Regions from separate parts of the Homo sapiens genome. Here region 1 is linked to region 2. Evidence: promoter capture Hi-C in 16 types of primary human blood cells and fetal thymus (Javierre and others, 2016). All regions are on one chromosome and are shown on one strand. Each heading gives the region's core, a stretch centred on a gene start or on the middle of the fragment in contact. The rest is flanking DNA. Distances are from core to core; before and after follow the strand shown.

Region 1 (2,700 bases), core at 25-2,524, 2.6 Mb after region 2:
AAGTCCAAGCTGAAAATGATTATGGAGAGGAAGTGGATGAATGTGTCAAAGAGGTTCTACAGCAGGGGAGGGTTGGATTAGATCAGGGGCCCCAAAGGGAGGGTTTTCCTGACAGAAAGCTGCTGCTTCAGCTGAGACAGTAGGGAAGGAAAGTAGGATGTGCAGCGATGCAGCACAGAAGAACATGGGCTCTGGAGACGGCTGACCTAATTCCAAATCCCAGCTCTGCCAATTACTAGTTACTTACCCCTGGACAAATTATTTAACTGCTCTCTGACTCAGATTACCCACCTGTCAAGTGTGGCTGGTATCAGTACCTATCTCACAGAATTTTGAGGGGATTAACTGAGCTAATACATACAATGCATTAGCAACAGTGTCTGGAATACAGTAAGTGCCCAATAAATGTTAGAAGCTATTAGTATTCTTAAGCTGAGACAATTTTGCCATCAAGAAATGAATGACGGCCGGGTGCGGTGACTCACGCCTGTAATCCCAGCACTTTGGGAGGCCGAGGTGGGCAGATCACGAGGTCAGGAGATCGAGACCGTCCTGGCTAACACGGTGAAACCCCGTCTCTACTAAAAATACAAAAAATTAGCCAGGCGTGGTGGCGGGCGCCTGTAGTCCCAGCTACTCAGGAGGCTGAGGCAGGAGAATGGCGTTAACCCCAGAGGCGGAACTTGCAAAAAAAAAAAAAGAAATGAATGACAAGGCAAGGCAGAAAGCTAAAATTCTCAACTAAAATAAAACTTGAGCTGGAAAACAAGTAGTACTAGATAATTTCATAAAAGAGATCTGCTACCTAAGAACAAGCTTGCTCTCTCTTTATATCCACTTACTTATTTAGATCGATGTCTTTCCCCTGCTCGTGGGCTTCAATCAGTTGTTTAATAACATCTCCTATAGTCAGCATCATCAGCTCAGCAGGGCTGAGATCTCCTGGAAAGTTAATATTCAACAATGTCAAAAATCGTATCATTCAATCAAGATTTTAAAATCTGATTTAGTAGCAGTTTTCCATCCGAAACCATACAAATATGCCAAATGAATAGCTCAAGTTCAGAAGATGCTAAATCTCTACTGTTTACAATTTGATCATATCTTTTGTATCTTTAAAACAAACGTGGCTTTACATATATATGGGAAAAGCTCCCTTTAGAAGCACATACTCTATGAGATTATTAAAAATAAATACAGGAAAGGATACAGGAGTAGAAACAATGTGAGGAGAAAGAACTTAATCACACAGGAAAGGACCAAAGTAATTCTCTTCCCTTTATCTCCAGAGGTGTAATTACTAATATGTGCATAATACTTTAGAGTTCATAAAGAACATTTAGATGCATGAATTCAGGTAATTCTCAGAACAGAGGTAGACAGAACAAGAATATGTGCCTGTTACATGAAGATGCTATCAAGGAGTAAAGTTGAAACTCAAACCCAGGTATCTGCCTAAGAATCTTAATGCATTTCTAAAATATTGTCTGTCCACCATCATGAACTTCTGGCAACTGGGGCTCTCGGTCTCATCCAAAGGCAACAGCAGAAGCTGACAGGTTCTTGTATGACGCCATCCACTCAAGCACAGTTCAAGGATTGGTTCAAGGATGGGCATATCTCTAAGCCAGGCCAATCTGAGCTCTTTTCTTCAAGGTAAAAAATGCCAGTCTTTTTCCAGGGACAAAAGCTGTGGGATATCAGCTTGGAAGCTGTCAGCAAGCAAGCTTCTCACCTGTAGAGCAGTGGTTCCCAACCTTTTTGATAAAAGGAACTGGTTTTATGGAAGATGATTTTTCCACAGACCAGGGGAGCAGGGTGGTTTTAGGATGATTCAAGTGCATTACATTTATTGTGCACTTTATTTTTATTACTGCATTGTTATATGTAATGAAATAATTATACAATTCACCATAACGAATTCTGTTCCCATAGAATCAGTGGGAACCCTGAGCTTGTTTTCCTGCAACTAGACACTCCCATCTGGGGGTGATGGGAGACAGTGACAGATCATCAGGCATTAGATTCTCATAAGGAGCACACAACCTAGACCCACCACATGCACGGTTCACAACAGGGTTCAGACTCCTTTGAGAATCTAATGCCACTGCTGATGTGACAGGAGGCAGAGCTTAGGCAGTAACATGAGTGATGGGAAGTGGCTGCAAATACTGATGAAGCTTCACTTGCTCGCCTGCTGCTCACCTTCTTCTGTCTGGCTCAGCTCCTAACAGGCCATGAACCGGTACTGGTCCGTGGCCCAGGGGGCTGAGGACTCACACTGCAGAGAAAGCTAAAACATAATGAAAGCGTGGATGGAAGGCCCTGGCAATTATGGAGCCCACACATTTACTTTATCTCATTTGAACCCTTACAGTAACACGGAGGGTAGGTACTGTTATCCCATTTTATAGATGTGAAAAATGAGGCTAAGGCAAGTTAACAAGCTATCGTAAACAGCAGAGCCAAGACTCAAATCCAGCTCTTTTCACCACAACTTCCATGCTTTTTTCACTGTAACACACTGCATCTAATTTAATGAGGCAAGGCTAACATATACACAACAATTTTTGAGAGAAATAAAGTCCATCTATACTCAAAGGCTAAATGCTTTCCAAACCATGTAACTCAGCACTTCCAGAGTTCTACAAAGGTGCCTCAGGGGCCATGCAACAGAGGTAGGACTGGTGGTGGTCATGG
Region 2 (2,700 bases), core at 93-2,592:
TGGCGGGAGTTCCCCGCAGGGATGCTCCACAGGGCAGGCCTAAGCCCCCTAAGGGGCTGCCTCGACTGTCCGTCAATTACCTCGCTTCCCAGTCAGGGAACCAAGAAATATAGCAGGATGAGTCACAGACAAAACTCCTCAGACACCAGATTAAAGCAGGAAGAGGTTTTTTATTCGGCCAGGAGCGTTGGCAGACTCGCGTCTTGAGAGCCGAGCTCTCCGAAAAAGAAATTCCTAGCCCTTTTAAGGGCTTACAACTCTAAGGGGTCTACGTGAAAAAATCATAATAGATCAAGTAAGCGTGGGAAACGTGACTGGGGGCTATATACATCAGCTAACAGAACAAAAAGTTTTACAGTGCTTTCTCATACAATGTCTGGAATTTACAGATAACACCAATAGTTTTGGTCAGGGGTTAATAATATTATTATTATCTTAGCCACCAGGGCCAGGTGGTGGTGCCAAGGTCGTCTAGCTATTTATCTTACTTCTGTTTCTTTCCAACTTTTTGCTTTCTCCCTTTTCTCCTGTCTTATAAACTAGGGAAAAGGGGAGGTTGGGGAGAAACTGAGAAGGACAACAGGAGAAGTGGTGACCTCATACCATAATCCTAGCATTTTGGGAGGCCGAGGTGAGAGAATCGCTTGAGGCCAAGAGTTCCCTACCAGTCCTGGTAACATAGTGAGACCCTATTTCTAAAAAAAAAATAAAAATAATAAAAAAAATAAAAAAAAAAATTAAATAAATAAATAAATAAATTAGCTGGGCGCTGTGGCGGGCACCTGTAGTTCCCAGCTACCGGGAAGGCTGAGGAGGGAGGATCGCTGCTTGAGCACAGTAGGTGGAGGCTGCAGTGAGCAGAGATCGCATCACTGCACCCCTGCCTGGGGGAGAGTGAGACCCAGTCTCAAAGAAAAAGCAAGAACAAACAAAAGTGGTCTCTGGAACAAACCTGGACAAACAACCCTTCGAATAGAGGCAAATTTCTCTTCCTGGAGAAGCCGTGCCACTGGCAACTCCCCAGGGGGCCAGCTCGGGAAAAGCCAGCTGAAACGAGAGGACGTTCACCGTTCCTCGCCTCGATCCACCGGACTTCAGAAGGCTACACGCGGCAGGCGCCGCTCGGGATCCAGGGGCCGGGGTGAGAACGGAGGCGGAGAAACCCCTCAGGCTCCGCCACCGGGGCGGGGAACTGGGAGGCGGCCCCGCCTCTGGGCATCCTCCTGGGTCTTGCCTAGCGGCGGGCGCATGCTTAGTCACCGTGAGGCTGCGCTTGCCCGGGGCCCGCGCCCCCCTACCCCGGGGACCGCCCCCGGGCCGCCCGCCCCACTTGGCGCGCCACTTCCGCGTGCATGGCCCTGCTGCCCCGAGCCCTGAGCGCCGGCGCGGGACCGAGCTGGCGGCGGGCGGCGCGCGCCTTCCGAGGCTTCCTGCTGCTTCTGCCCGAGCCCGCGGCCCTCACGCGCGCCCTCTCCCGTGCCATGGCCTGCAGGCAGGAGCCGCAGCCGCAGGGCCCGCCGCCCGCTGCTGGCGCCGTGGCCTCCTATGACTACCTGGTGATCGGGGGCGGCTCGGGCGGGCTGGCCAGCGCGCGCAGGGCGGCCGAGCTGGGTGCCAGGGCCGCCGTGGTGGAGAGCCACAAGCTGGGTGGCACTTGCGTGAGTACCGCCGGTTTGTTCGGGCGGGGGGCGCCTCTTTGTCTCGGTCTTTCGGGGGACAGCCTGTGCTCGTTCCTATGGCGATCCTGTCCCCCGGCGCTGGGCTTTCCTCTTTTCCACCCCCGCAACTCCCCATTCCGAAGCCAGGAACCCAGCAGGTGGAGGAGAGAGAGGCGTCCGGGGGCTTCTCTGCGGCCCGCAAAGCCGAGCCAGCGTCTGCTTCCGCACGGATGCGATATTGACCAGGGCCGGGGCGGGTTAGATTAACCTTCCTCCATCCTCACTTGTCCAAGTGGGAGAGGATTGGATTCTGTTCTTGACCGCGTGAAACACAAAACTGCATCTGGGAACATTGCTGGTGGCCTGTGTGTAGGGACGAGGGTGACGGTGCCATAGATCCTGGTTCTTGAAAAATGTAGATCCTGGTTCTCCCGTTTCAAGGGCAGAATGATTTATAGCGGTTGTTGTCAACCTTGGCTACACATTCGAATCACCTGAGGGTGCCTGGATTCCCGACTTAATTGGTCTGAGGTGCACTTGGGCTTTGGGATGTTTCCCGACTTAATTGGTCTGAAGTGCAGCCTGGGCTTTGGGATTTTCGGGTGATCTGAATTGCAGCCAAGGCGACCTTGAGTAGGTGAGTTCTCAGAGCTTTTGTTTTGTCTTGGTTTTATGTGGATTGCAAAACTAAAAACAGAGGGATGTAAATCCTGAGATTTACAAAATTCATAATTTTTGAAAATAAGGGTTTTTGTTTGTGTTTGTTTTTTGAGACAGGGTCTTGCCCTGTCACCTAGGCTAGAGTGCAGTGGCCATCATAGCTCACTGCAGCCTCGAACTCCCGGGCTCAAGGGATCCTCTCACCTTGGCCTCCTGAGTAGCTGGAACTACAGGGGGCTAATCACCACGCCTAGTTAATTATTATTATTTTTTGTAGAGATGGGGGTCTCGCTATGTTGCCCTTGCTGATTTCAACCTCTTGGACTCAACCGATCTTCCCGCCTCAGCCTCCCAAAGTGCTGGGATTACAAGCCTGAGCCAC

What was found. Contacts are between HindIII fragments. The CHiCAGO score rates a contact against its expected background, and 5 or more counts as called.
Region 1: a contact is called between a fragment that was not itself captured here and the fragment with the promoter of GSR in region 2, in 2 of 17 cell types (activated CD4 T cells and total CD4 T cells). The highest score is 5.8, in activated CD4 T cells.

What each region holds. Positions count from the first base shown.
Region 1 is chr8:28,095,461-28,098,160 of GRCh38, reverse strand. It overlaps ELP3 (elongator acetyltransferase complex subunit 3), which reads right to left. Exons shown (of 15, transcript NM_018091.6): 2 at 843-942. Among named protein-coding and RNA genes, the nearest start is that of ELP3, 3.7 kb to the right of the region's middle. The HindIII fragment of the contact is 911 bases long and covers 819-1,729 here.
Region 2 is chr8:30,726,488-30,729,187 of GRCh38, reverse strand. GSR (glutathione-disulfide reductase) reads left to right here and starts at 1,342. Exons shown (of 13, transcript NM_000637.5): 1 at 1,342-1,658. The coding sequence starts at 1,353. It also overlaps a transcript of UBXN8 not described here. RefSeq lists silencers at 1,082-1,171, 1,242-1,681 and an enhancer at 1,757-2,444. The HindIII fragment of the contact is 11,618 bases long and covers 1-2,700 here.